5 separate regions of the Homo sapiens genome follow, and regions 1, 2, 4 and 5 are each linked to region 3. Evidence: promoter capture Hi-C in 16 types of primary human blood cells and fetal thymus (Javierre and others, 2016). All regions are on one chromosome and are shown on one strand. Each heading gives the region's core, a stretch centred on a gene start or on the middle of the fragment in contact. The rest is flanking DNA. Distances are from core to core; before and after follow the strand shown. Region 1 has its middle 64 kb from the start of ARHGAP24. Region 2 has its middle 33 kb from the start of ARHGAP24. Region 3 holds the start of ARHGAP24 (Rho GTPase activating protein 24). Region 4 overlaps ARHGAP24 (Rho GTPase activating protein 24). Region 5 overlaps ARHGAP24 (Rho GTPase activating protein 24).

Region 1 (2,700 bases), core at 91-2,590, 64 kb after region 3:
TAAAACACATAAATAAAATAGAGAAAATTATGCGTGACATTTCTTCTGGAATCTGCATTTATTTGCAAAATGCAGATAATTTTTATTCTGAAAGAGGAAAAGCACCGAAAATACATCTTTGCAAAGATAACTCTTCCGATTGGGAACTTTATCCTGCTGTTACATTTTCTCTGGCACCTGACTCCTTCAAGTACATCACTGTTTTCTGTATCTATAGTATCTTCCTCTCCACTGGTTTATATATTTTTAGCTCATTTGAACATATCTAGATGTCCTCTTTTGTTTAAAAAAATAAAATTATTTTTAACAATGCTTTCCTTCACTTCTTTTTGAAAAACAGTTTATTCTTAGTGTCTTCACTTCTAATAATTCTTTAAAATACTCACTTATTCATCTATTCATTAATTCGACAACTATTATTAAGTATGTACTATACATAAAACATTGCAGTAAGTGCTGTTGGAAAAATATATATATAAATAATTGTGTCCCATGTTTATCCTATCATCTACTTTCAATAAAAAACTGATTCAATAAGACTAAATCATTATAATTTAATAATTGATTACATGTAATTTCTTCCAGAGATTTGCATGTTTTAAGGTTTTTCAAAGCTACGCTTTAACTTCTAGTGGTAGAATTCAGGCACCAGGAAGAAATATGTTTTGAAAGGGACCACTGCCTCTGTCTGTGCTGGGATTGAATGGGAAGCTAGAGAAGAGGCAACAGTAGACAGCAAAGTAGAGGTGATTGAAAAGGGGGAGACAGAATGAGATAGAACTGGTGAAAGCAGGATTTCAATCATGGCTGATTTTGCTTCCCAAGAGACGTTTGGCAATATCTGGAGACATGTTTGGTTGTCACACAGGCCAGGTGGTGCTAATGGCATCTTGTGAGTAGAAGGCAAGAATGCTGTTAAACATCCTGCCATGCACTCGACGGCGCCCATGACAAAATTATCCAGCCCAAAATGTCAATATTGTTGCAACTGGAGAAACTCTGGTTTAAAGGAATGAGTATGAATTTTCTTTCTTTCATTGCATACCATGGCAGTGATGATCAGATAGCAATTCGTAAATGGTAGAGTAGGCCTATGTTCTATAGGAAGACAAGTCCTGATAACATTCTGTCAATGTTTAGGAAACAACACAATTCTTTTCATACAAACAAGGTGGCAAGAGAACTAGAGAGAAAGGGAGAGAGAGCAGCTATGTATTGTCAAAGGCACTGGGCTGCTTGCTCCTCAGATACCTGGGTTTGAATCCAGCCTCACATCCTCAGATAACTGGGTTTGAATCCAGCCTCACATCCTCAGATACCTGGGTTTGAATCCAGCCCCACATTTACAAGTACTGGTGACTTGGACAAGTCACTAAAAATGTCACTAATCTAGTTTTCTCATCTATGAAAATAATCTAATAGGGTAAAGGACTAGAACAGATAACATCCAAGAATGTGTCTGGCACATACCAACAACTACATGGCTTACATCTATGGAGCTCTTACTGTTTGGCATTGTTCTAAGCATTTTGTATGTATTAACTCATTCAGTCTCATAATCAAAGATGGGTTAGGTAGTAGTATCTTCTCCATTTTATCAGATAGGCAAATCTAGGCATAGAGGTATTAAATGACTCTCTTAAGATTGAAGGACAGAGCCCACACACTCTCACTAAGTTTTTCAGAAGTGTTGGTTGATCAGTTGCCTCAGACATTAAAGATAATTAAGTAGGAGGAGAACTGTTTGGTCAACAAATTATTCTTAAGTGTCTACTATGTGCTAGTCACTAGAGCTAGAGTAATGAGTATTTTAGTCTATGCTGCTACAACAAAATACCTGTAATTATTGGATAATTTATTATTCTGGAGGCTGGGAAGTCCACAATCAGAGTGCTGGCAGGTTTGGTTGTGTGAAGAGGGCCACTCTCCACTTCCAGTATGGTGCTTCATTACTGCATCCTCTGGAGGGATGGAATGCCGTGTCCTCACTTGGTGGAAAACCAAAAAGCAAGCTAACCCAACACTGTGCGAAGCCTTTTATAAGGGCCTTCATCTCGGTTTCAAGGGAAGGAGCCCTCATAACTTAATCACCTCTTAAAGGCTCTACCTCTTAATACAAATCACAAATACAATCACATTGGCCATTAAGTTGCAACACCTGAATTTTGGAGAAGATACAGACATGCACTGGAGATATGGCAGGTTCAGTTCAGACCACCTCTTCATTCTCAATAAAGACAATGTGTCAATAAAGTGAGTCTCAAAAATTTTTTTATTTCCCAGTGCATATAGAAGTTAGTTTATACTATACTGTAGTCTATTAAGTGTGCAACAGCATTATGTCTAAAAAGCAATGTACATACCTTAATTTTAAAATACTTTATTGCTAAAAATGCTAACGATCATCTGACACAGAGACACAAAGTGAGCCCATGCTGATGAAATGAAAAAATAGCGCCAAAAGACTTGCTTGATGCAGGGTTGCTACAAACCTTCGGTTTGTACAAAAAGCAAAGGAAAAAAGAAAAGGAAAAAATGCAACATCTGTGAAGTGCAATAAAGTGAAGTGCAATAAAACAAGGTACACATGTACCTTCAAACCATAGCAATGAGTGAAACAGATATGGCACCTGCCCACATGTAACTTACAACATCAGCTAGTATGCACAAAAGAAAAGCTTGTAAATGATGTGAATTCCC
Region 2 (2,700 bases), core at 194-2,693, 33 kb after region 3:
TCTATTATGACAATTTATATACAAACTATAGGGAGAAGTTTAGACTTTAATTTTTGCCATCTGTTCAGAAATGTGCCTACATTTGCAAATTTTCATATTCAAAAACTATACAGAGGTGTGAGCGGATTGGGCCCCTGGAATTACATGTATTACATGTTTTAGATTATTGAAATATACCAACCACCACTACAGTTAAGTGTTTGTGGTCTAGTGTTGGGGTTTGAAACATACATTATTGACTCTATACCTTTCAAAGCAGGCACAATTCATCCAGTTTTGCAGATCAAGACACGTAGGTACAGAGAGTTTAGATAACTTGGCCAATTTCCTAAGTGGTAAAGTAGGGATTTGAAACCAACTCTGTCTGTTTCTGAAGCATTTTCTATTTATTGCCTCATTTAATCCCCATAACAATCCTTTAAACTAGGTGGGTGGCTGGTCTTTGTTTCAGTTAATAGAATATGAAAGTAAAGATAGAAAGTTCAAGTGACTTGCCAAAGAAACACAGTAAGTAACAAACTGAGAGTTTCCGAGTCTAAAAATCTGTGCTTTTTGAATTCAATTGTTGAATTAAAGTTGCCCTGCATTTACAATCAACAAACTTGGTTCAATCAACAGAATGAGCATCGTCTTCTATTTGAGCGATCTTGAGTAAGCTACTTAATTTTCCAATATTCCAAAAATGATAATAGGCATGTCCAGGTGCTATTGTAATACTTAAATAAAATTAATTTATGTAAAGTGTATGCAACAAACTTGATCAGAGTAGGTGTTCACTTAATAATTTTGAGCCCCTTCTCTTTGAATCTGAATAGATGTGGCTTTAGAGAACTACATTTGCATCTACATTTAGAAATAGAAACAGAGAATAGAAAATGGAGGTCTCCAAAGGAATAATATTAATTAAATAGTGCTACTAAATTATAAAGATTAAGGGTATTGGAGAAGTCAATTTGAAGCCAAACACAAGCAGATATTTTTTCACATACTGAATTCAGTATGTGCAAAATATAATTGTCATTTACTTGTACCTCAAGGAGAAAGCTGAGAATAAATAAGTGTGCTTGTTTCTCCCAAAGAGCCATCCAACGTCACATGCTAACATAATTGGTCTTTTGGCCCCTTTGCGATTATTCCCCATGTTTAATAACACTCAAAGATTTATGAAATTCCCTCTCTAAATTGTCTTTATTCATTAATGCTAATAGTATACTAGATTTCTTTCTATTTGTCTCTGGATTTCTTTTCTTTATACTGTTGAGTGCTATGATTTCAGGAGAAGTTCACTCTGTCATACCACTTGAGTGATAAAGCTAATAATAATGATTAGTTGTCATAGTAATAACTTGTTTAGCAGTTTTCTAGGTATATTTTGTCTAATTCTTTTTATTTTTATAACAACCCTATTATAGAACCCATAGGTAGATATTTTTATCCGCATCTTGCATATGGAAAGAATGAAGCACAGAGAGATTAAGAAACTTGTCCATGGTCTCACTGTTGTTAAGAGGTGGATTGGTTTCAAACCCGCAATATAGCACCAACCTAGGCTGGTAACCACTACTCATCATGCCTCTCTGCAAGCTAAAGTGGTCTTGCTTGTCAAACAGAAAAAAGACTCAATGCATTCAAGGAATGCCTTTTAAATGATCCTTTCTGGGAGAGGATTAATACAGCTATATTCTTTAAAAAAAAACTTATATTAGCAAATTAAATTGATACATTTGTAAAATTATTTAAGATGTCAAAAAAATCAGACAATTATTTACAAGTCTATATATGTTTAACTCTCTCTCTCTTTTATGATGCAACACAATTAAAATTAAACCTTATTTGATCATTGCCACGTTGTGACTGTCAAGAGTGGCATCTTCCATTTGTTGGAATAAGTGAGCCTGGTCTCACAATGCTGAGTCTGTGAATTTTTACAGTTTTAGAAAATAAATGTTAATAATTGCACAGGAAGTTCCTTGTAAGTGATTTGCTATAGAATAATTTTACTTTAATAATGCAAAAGTACAGAGTAAAAAAAAACTGCAACTCAAAATGTTTTTATTGCTCCACTTTCTTTTCTATCAAGGACATGGCTATAGAAATCATCTCAGTTTTTTAGTTGTCTGTTGATTTGCCTTAGGTTTTAAGGCCATTCCATCTTCTCTCGGCTGGGTAGCACATTGAGATCTCAGTCCACATGTGACTCAAAAGATTGATGTGGGATCCTGCAAGGAGTACCAAGATGGCCTTCCAAGTGATATATCCTCACAATCGAGATGAAAGATGGCCTTTCTTTCTCTACTACTTTGCCAAACACAGTTGCTGCCATTCTGTTGTAAACTAAGGCCTCCCAAATACAGACAAAACAACTATGCTTTTAGCTTTGGCTAAGTAGCTTTCTTAAAAGTCATTTTCACCCTTATAGAAAGGATAGTGGGAAGACTGGATGAAAATCTCCACCTCCATGTTAACTCATTTTTGCTCTCTGTGTCAGCTGGACTTGGAAAACAGTATCTTAGAGAATATGACTGCATGTTCCTCATGACTTCTATGCTTCAGAATTGCAGCAAATGTCAGTCTAAGGCAACTTAAAAAGTTTTTAGGTGCTATAAGACTATATCTTCTCGGGGGTTAATGCCTTCACTGGTTACAAATACATGAGAAAACTTTTTAATTGATATCATCATGTTCAGTATGTATATTGGC
Region 3 (2,700 bases), core at 28-2,527:
AGTAACATAAAATGTGCTGGAAACAGAAATTACTTGGAGAAATTACTTGTTTAATTCAAATGAATTAAACGAGATATAGTCTACAAAGAAGTCTGGGCTCCCTATTACTGGTTGATGCTGAAAATCTATCTAAGGAATTCAGAGTAACATTGTCTCCCTTCTATTTGGGTACGTATAAAATAAATGTAGTCTTAAGTATTTTCTAAAAACGAGACCATATTACATGTTTATCATTAAATGTTATTTTTAAAAACATTTGGACAAAATCTTTTGAGTGGCTTCAAATTCACCAAAGATTCCCTAACGTTTTGTGTTTACAAATATATGTATATATTTTATAATATATATTTCTAATATGTAATATATTTATAAATATTTTAAAACATATTTTATACATATAAAATATATATTTTTGCAAATATATATGCTTATTATTAAAACCTATCTTTGTGCGCCTGTTACATAGGGAACTCCTATAAGATACTAGAGGAAACAAACAAGGGGAAGGGGAGGATGGATACCAAGAGAGGAAATTGAATTGTACAAAGGGTTTTTATTAATTCCATCTATTTTTAAAGCCAGAAAGACATACTACCAGCTTGCTGTCTCCCGGCACAAACATGCGCGCGCGCGCACACACACACACAAACACAGACAGGCTACATCAGCACGGGATTCCTGCGATCCCTCCCCGCCCCCCGCAGCCCCCTCCCCGCCCCCCGCAGCCCCCTCCCCGCCCCCCGCAGCCCCCTCCCCGCCCCCCGCAGCCCCCTCCCCGCCCCCCGCAGCCCCCTCCCCTGGCGCAGGCAGCCGCGTCCGTCCTTCCCGCGGTAGCTCCGCGCACTTCCTCGCGACCGCATCACCTACCTTGCTGGGAGCTCAAGACAGATGCCGGACAGGGCTGCTGCTCCGAAGGAAAAGGCTCCCAGGACCAGCAGTAAGAAAACGCAAAGAAAAAAAGGTGGTAGTGAGGCTCCTTTACTTTCCACAACAAGGGGAAGTGTTGAACTCTATGCACTGGGCTGCTCCGCAGCGCGGGTTTCGGAGGAAATAGGCGGCCGAGAGAGCTGCGCCTGCGATGGGAAGTTGGGGGGATTCCCCCAGCCACCCAGCCACCCCCGCCAGGCTCCTCTCTGGTCCCCGCCGCAGCCTTGACAGCTCCCCTGGTCTCCGAGCCCCTCCAGAGCCCTGCTGGTTTCCACCCGGAGCTGGGCTGTGTTGCCACATGCACTTGAGAAATCCTAGCAGTTGCGCAAAGAGTCCCAGAAGTTAGAAAGGGTGATTGTGTGTGAATGTGTAAATATACAGTACAAGAGGCTGGAACAACTGAGTGGGGCCAACCCTCAGACACAGCTCGAGGTTTCAGATTTCATTTGGCAACTGGTAGCTTCACAGGACTCGAGCCGCACTACAGGGGAGGCCGGCAGGAGCCCCGCCCTCCCAAAGCCTGGGTTATCTGAGAGCTGGAGCTACACCGCCTGGCGCCACTGACAGAATGCGCCCTGCCTGGTTCCTCCGCATCTGGCATCGCTCGTTCCTTTCAAGTGCATCATAGATACTTGTTGGCCACAGATCTGGGGCTGTGGGCGCGAGAAGGTTGGTGAATACATGTCTCCTGCCCTCAAGGAGCTCTGCATTTCATTGGCCAAACCCCATACACCGGTTTTACTTGCTTCTACCAACTCTGTCTCGCTAACATTTTATTTCTCCAATTAGAATTACCTGGGCCATTAAAGCAATATTCCTGGAAATGCACATTTAGATGGATGCTCTCTAACTAGAGCCTTAGAGAAATTCAAAGTATAATTACTTTCTTACGGTGGTGTAAGAACTCTCGGAGTTACACAATATGGGACAAAAGGACAAACTAGTAAACATTGTTTTGATGCAGGCCGTCTCTTCCCACCATCACCACAATGTCTGTTTCAAATTGTGATCTTACAGTTCTGGTTACCTGGCATGCTGAGTCAAATTATTTCAAAAAGCTTTGTAAAGATCTCTGTTTTAGAAACCCACTTACAGTGGATCAGTCATGCAATCCTAGCACTTTGGAAGGCTGAGGCAGGAGGATCGCTTGAGCCCAGGGGTTTCAGACCAAAATTGGCAACATAATGAGACTCCTGTCTCTATAAAAAAAAAATTAAAAAAATAAAAAAAAAGTTGGGCGTGGCGGCGTATGTCTGTAGTCCCAGCTACTCAGGAGGCTGAAGCGGGAAAATCCCTTGAGCCCAGGAGGTCAAGGCTGCAGTGAGCTATAATTGTGCCAGCGCACTCCAGCCTAGGTGACGGAGTGACACCCCCGTCTCGAACAATTACTACTGCTACTACTAATAAAAGAAACTCTCTTTTAGAAATCATCACCAGATATCCTTAAGACACAGAATGGGGGTGTCCTCACTAGGGATCTCCAGTGAGAGAGGGATATGGAAGAAGAGCAAATGTTTAGTTTTAGAAACACCAAAAATAAAAGGCTGAGTGGACACTGATATGTTTTTCCTTTTTGTCCTCTTTCTCCAAGTTCTTGGAGAAACGAATCTACCCCATCCCATGCTGAGGTCCTACTATAAACTTGATTTTCTGGTGGGAGAATTCTCAGCCCTTTAATGAATCAAATTAATTTGTGTGGGGAAAAAATTGCGTTTCATATTTCATTTTAAAAATATGTATGGAATTCCTAAGCTAGAAGTAATGTAGCTTATT
Region 4 (2,700 bases), core at 184-2,683, 36 kb before region 3:
AACCATAGTTGAGTACTCTCTGAGACCATTTTCAACATCTACAGTGCACAAACTATAATGGCCCTGAGTGACTGAAATTTAATATCTAATGTGCAACTACACTAAGCCAGGTACTAAGCTTGGGTGTCTAACTAGAGCAGCAATAAAAATAACAACCTAAATAATAGTGACTAAACAAATGGCTAATCTATACTTGTACTTACTATGTGCCAGGCATTTTACTAAGCATTATCTCATTTAATCCTCACAGCAGTATGAGGTGAGAACTAGAATTACCTACGTTACAGTTGAGGCTCAGTGAGGCTAAGTAATTTGACAAAGGTCACATAGTTACTTCGTGGAGGAAATGAGACTTGAACTCAGAATGGGACATGGGTTGAATTGTGTGCCCTCAAAAGATACATTGAAGTCCTGACCCCCACTACCTCAGAATATGGCCTTATTTGGGAAACAGGTTTGTGGCAAACATAGTTAAACGGATGCCATAAGGGAGTAGAATGGCCTCTAGTGCAACATGACTGATGTCCTCATAAGCAGAAGGCTGGGTGATGACAGTGAGACCCACAGGGAGAGCACCATGTTATGATGAAGGCAGAGATTAGAGTTATGCAGCTGCAAGCCAAGGATTTCCAGCAAACCACCAGAAACTAGGAAGAGGAAAGGAAGGATTCCCCCACAGGCTTCAGAGGGAGCGTGGCCCTCCTGACACTTTGATTCTGCACTTCTAACCTCCAAAACCATTAGACAGTGAATTTCGGCCAGGCGGGTTGGCTCACGCCTGTAATCCCAGCACTTTGGGAGGCCGAGGCGGGTGGATCACCTGAGGTCGGGAGACTGAGACCAACCTGACCAATGTGGAGAAACCCTGTCTCTACTAAAAATACAAAAAAATTAGCCAGGCATAGTGGCGCATGCCTGTAATCCCAGCTACTCGGGAGGCTGAGGCAGGAAAATTGTTTGAACCCGTGAGGAAGAGGTTGCAGTGAGTCGAGATCACACCATTGCACTCCAGCTGGGCAACAAGAACAAAATTCCATCTCAATAAAATAAAATAATAAAATAAAATAATAAAATAAAATAAAATAAAGACAGTGAATTTCTTTTGTTTAAAACCACCCAGTTTGTGGTACTTCGTTATAGCAACCCTAGAAAACTAATACAGTGCCTAACTCCAAAGCCTTCGGAGGGCACATCAGTTGAAAGTCTTTCCTAGATCGTTAAAGAAACATTTAATTACACATAGAAGAGATATAATTTTTCAATTTTATTAGATTCCAAGTTACATAAAGATCTCCAGAAGACAGATTTTAAAAAAATCAGAATTCTTATTTTCTGCCTCAGTTGTGGTAAGCACAATTTTTGTAATTATTTTAAAATGTTTTCTAAAATAGCTTAATTCTATCCTTTTGAATTACTGGAATAACCAATATTTATTCTGAAGCAATTTTCATTTTCAAAAAGGATTCTTTGTATTTTATGGGTGGCCGTTAGATGGCTTTATTTGAATTACCATACTATAAGAACTCCTCTAGAAGAAACAGACTAATACTAGGGTGGGTAAACAAGACAAGTTTACATAATATACCGTTACTATGCAGCCAGCATTTTACCAGAGCAGAGGCATGGGTTCTCCTTTCCAAAGAAAGTAATGGCGATGAGAATAGAGACTCAGAGGAAGAGAGAGAGAGCGAGAGAGAAGGAGGAGGAGGAGGAGGAGGAAGGGGAGGGGCTAGAGGAGGGGGAGGAGGAGGAGGAGGAATGTATTAAAGACTTATTGCCATGAAGGTGACAAGGAAATAAATGACCATAAGAGGAAAAGCAGGGTACATAGAGCAGTGGAAAAAAAATGAGCCTGGAGAGGGGAGAGGAGGCTCCTGGAGAACCTGGGAAGGACAGGGGAGGGAGGGGAAGACGGGGAAGACAAGGGGGAGAGAGGGGAGGGAAGAAGGAGAAGGAAAGAGATAAAAAGGAAGGCAAGAGAGGGAAAGGGGTTGGGAGAGTGAGGGGGAGAGGGGAGGGAGAGAAGGAAAAAGAAGGGAAGAAGGCAAACGGGTAGAGAGAGGGAGAAAAAGAAAGGGAGAGAGAGGGAAAGAGAAGGAGTGAAAGAAAGGGGAGTGGTACATTAGGAGGGAAAATATGCTGAATATGTGTGAAGGTGCGAAATTTGGTCTTTCTGTTCATTGGCATGCATAGCAAATATTTTCCTCAGGGTCTTAGTGCCAGCTGACACAGAATGAAATAAGACACATTCCATGGCACTTTCACAATGATAAGTATCTGGTCAAAAACCCAATGGAGGAAAATACTCTTATAAAACTCTCATTTTTTATTTTTCTCATCTTGGCAAAGTCTTTTCTCTGAAACAAAAGAGCAGTGTATATTCCTGTCACTTTATTTTGAAGAGTCCCTTTTAAGAGCCGCCACATCACATGCAATACTTGATCACTCTCAAAGTCCAAGTTCTTTAGTGCCAAGAGCCAAGTGTGCTTTGGCTTGATCTTTGAGAACTATTTCTGAATAGTAAAGATCAAGGGGCATCCATATGGAGGCGCATCTTGCCACCACTCTATCTTTGTGCTGTTCAAATATTGTATTTATTAGGACCAGGACTTCCTAGTAATAAACAGAATCACAGCATCCGATAATACAAAAGGGGCATTTTAAATGTAATATATTCCATTTATAAGTATATATTACATA
Region 5 (2,700 bases), core at 109-2,608, 54 kb before region 3:
AAGAACCCCTTTGAACCAGTGGAAGAGGTGAAGAAAATATTCTTGCAATAGCTGAATATCGCAGTGAAACAGTCAAGACCAAATATCCAGATACGGGAAGTTCTGATGATAAGGTAGTGCCACTCTGTGTGGATGAATTAACAGTTTATCGTAATTCTCATTCATTTGGAAAGTGAAGTATATATTTGTGAACTCATAGGTTTCATATCTAATGCTCTTTTACTATTTTATACCCACTAGTCTCCTACTTTTAAAACAAAAATTAAAAGTAGCTTGAAAATATTTACTTGTTGACTAGATTTGGAGGAGTATATGGGACTTCAATTTTTTTTAATTAAGAGTACATCTGTTTTGTAATAGAACTGAAAAGTAATACTTTCACCATAGATATATGTACCTGAGAGTGAGCTCCATTTTCTCCATATATTCATAAATCTGACAAATATTAATTGAATATCACTCTAGTATCTGACATTATGAATATAAAAGGAATGGACTTAACCAACTCTCAAAAGAAATAAAATGAAAAGAGTTTTTTTTAAAATAGTACAATATTTGCATGGTTGAATACAGAAATAAAGGAATAACCCTCATAGTCAACCAGATGTCACATCAGGTTTTGCTGACCATTCAAATGGGATACACAACTCAGGAGAATGACATATTTTTATTGTCTGCTAATCATCATTTAGAATAATGGTTCAATTAGGAGTGATTTTGTCACATCTCCCACTCCACAGAGGACATTTGGCAATATCTGGAGATACTTTTGGTTGTCACATTGGGAAGGGAGTTTCTACTGGCATCTAGTGAATAGAGGCTAAGGATGATGCTTGACATCCTACAATACCCAACAGTTTGGTTCCAACAACAAAGAATTATCTGCCAAAAATATCAGCAATGCTGAGATTGAGAAACCTTAATTCAGAATGTCTAAATGGTGTTGAAAAGCCAAAGGAAGGCTGATGCAAAGAATTTCTGGCCAGTTGAACTTCAGTAGGTTCTCCGACAGGTTTCAGCAATATTTTATTCTTAATCAGCAATAATCTTACACTGAAAATCAGAATGTCAGACCAAGCTAAGCCAGTATTTTCATAGTCCAAAATTTAGCAAAATTGATTTATAAAGAACAGGTGCTTTATTTAATCAGACTTAGGAGTAGCATGCCACAACATTATCACAATGTACTTGTCAAAAGCTATAATTTGATTTATGACTGGTGAGCCTAGAATAGTCATAGACTCTTTCTGGGAAGAAATTCAAGTTCAATAGAATCCTTGATGACAACAAAAAAATTAGTTTTTACTATATGTGCACATACCTTCAAAATATTTGTACTCTGATGTACCACAGTGACTACTACTGGATATACATGAGAAGAATTTTGCTACCACTGAACATGATCAGCTCAGGAGTAGTCAAGATGATATTACGTATTTGTCTCAGATCCCAATACTGACCTCTATCTTTGATAGTATTGAATAGACAAGCATCAATGAAATATGATCAGCTCAAGAGTAGTCAAGATGATATTATGTATTTGTCTGAGACACCAACACTGACCTCTATCTTTGATAGTATTGAATAGACAAGCATCAATGAAATATTATCATAATTATAATCAACAGAAACAAGTAGTTCTTTGTTACTGCCTATGCAGAGGACATGACGTGGAGATAGTACATGTCCAATTATAATAATCTAGGATTCATGTATATGCAAAAGACAGACACGCAATATTAATCTGTTTGAACTTTACTTAACAAACACATAGTTTGTTAAGAGCTTTGAAAAATATTAACTCACTTAATCCTCATGTCAACCCAATAAATTAGATGCAATTCTAATCCCCATATTTTACAGATGAGGAAACTGAGATACAGAAAGGTTAATTCTCGCAACTGCCATCAAAACCGAATTACATCTTGCCTATATTGTTGTTACAATTGCCATCTGATCTTCCATCCCCATCTTTCTCCCTCCAATCCATATTGTACACTAACACCAGAAATTTTTTGTGTGTACATACCTACTCATAATTTTTCTCCTTAAAAAACTCCAGTGGCTCCTGATTTCTTATTGGGCTATTACAATTAAAAATAAGCAATAATATTTTTAGCAATCATAGCTAATATTTTTTTCTTGCCTTCTATGCAGCCCTACATTAAGCACAATGTATTATTATCATGTATAAACCCAACTGATGTGGTGTGGAATACAGTGTCTGCTACAATCTGACCCAATCTCTGTCTTTTTCCATTCTTCTTTGTATGGACTGGTCCTTTCTTTCAGTGATTCTCTTCCCTTTCTATTTCAGTCCTATTCTTCAGCTCTCGCAGGGTTAGGTGTTCTATTCATTGTCTTTACAATGCAGCACAAACATAACACTGCTATTGTAGCACTCACCCTGTCATTTTGTAATCTATTGTTTATATGCCTGTCTCCTTTGTCAGTGTTTGAGAAATTCATTCCAGATTCACTTATGTTCCTGACACATAAAAGGTACTAATCAAACGTTGAATATATGTCTCAGGAAATCAGAGGAAGAAATTAATTGTTTGTTATCAATGCTGAGTAGCAGAAAAATCCATACCTACTTCTTGGATCAAATGAGAGGATTCTGCACATGAGGTGAAATTTCAAGAGTCATTTAAAATACAGAAGGAAAGCAATACTTGCCAGGTTTGAGAGGCAGTATTT

The links. Contacts are between HindIII fragments. The CHiCAGO score rates a contact against its expected background, and 5 or more counts as called.
Region 1: a fragment that was not itself captured here is called in contact with the fragment with the promoter of ARHGAP24 in region 3 in 1 of 17 cell types (total B cells); the score reaches 5.1 in total B cells.
Region 2: a contact is called between a fragment that was not itself captured here and the fragment with the promoter of ARHGAP24 in region 3, in 1 of 17 cell types (total B cells). The highest score is 5.2, in total B cells.
Region 4: a contact is called between a fragment that was not itself captured here and the fragment with the promoter of ARHGAP24 in region 3, in 1 of 17 cell types (total B cells). The highest score is 9.3, in total B cells.
Region 5: a contact is called between a fragment that was not itself captured here and the fragment with the promoter of ARHGAP24 in region 3, in 2 of 17 cell types (total B cells and naive B cells). The highest score is 13.2, in total B cells.

Annotation. Positions count from the first base shown.
Region 1 is chr4:85,409,808-85,412,507 of GRCh38, reverse strand. No RefSeq gene overlaps it. Among named protein-coding and RNA genes, the nearest start is that of ARHGAP24, 64 kb to the left of the region's middle. The HindIII fragment of the contact is 2,680 bases long and covers 1-2,680 here.
Region 2 is chr4:85,440,705-85,443,404 of GRCh38, reverse strand. No RefSeq gene overlaps it. Among named protein-coding and RNA genes, the nearest start is that of ARHGAP24, 33 kb to the left of the region's middle. The HindIII fragment of the contact is 4,329 bases long and covers 1-2,700 here.
Region 3 is chr4:85,473,727-85,476,426 of GRCh38, reverse strand. It overlaps ARHGAP24 (Rho GTPase activating protein 24), which reads right to left and starts at 1,277. Exons shown (of 10, transcript NM_001025616.3): 1 at 868-1,277. The HindIII fragment of the contact is 5,990 bases long and covers 1-1,987 here.
Region 4 is chr4:85,509,821-85,512,520 of GRCh38, reverse strand. The region is part of intron 1 of ARHGAP24 (Rho GTPase activating protein 24); the gene reads right to left. Among named protein-coding and RNA genes, the nearest start is that of ARHGAP24, 36 kb to the right of the region's middle. The HindIII fragment of the contact is 2,625 bases long and covers 121-2,700 here.
Region 5 is chr4:85,527,744-85,530,443 of GRCh38, reverse strand. All of the region lies in intron 1 of ARHGAP24 (Rho GTPase activating protein 24), which reads right to left. Among named protein-coding and RNA genes, the nearest start is that of ARHGAP24, 54 kb to the right of the region's middle. The HindIII fragment of the contact is 3,597 bases long and covers 1-2,700 here.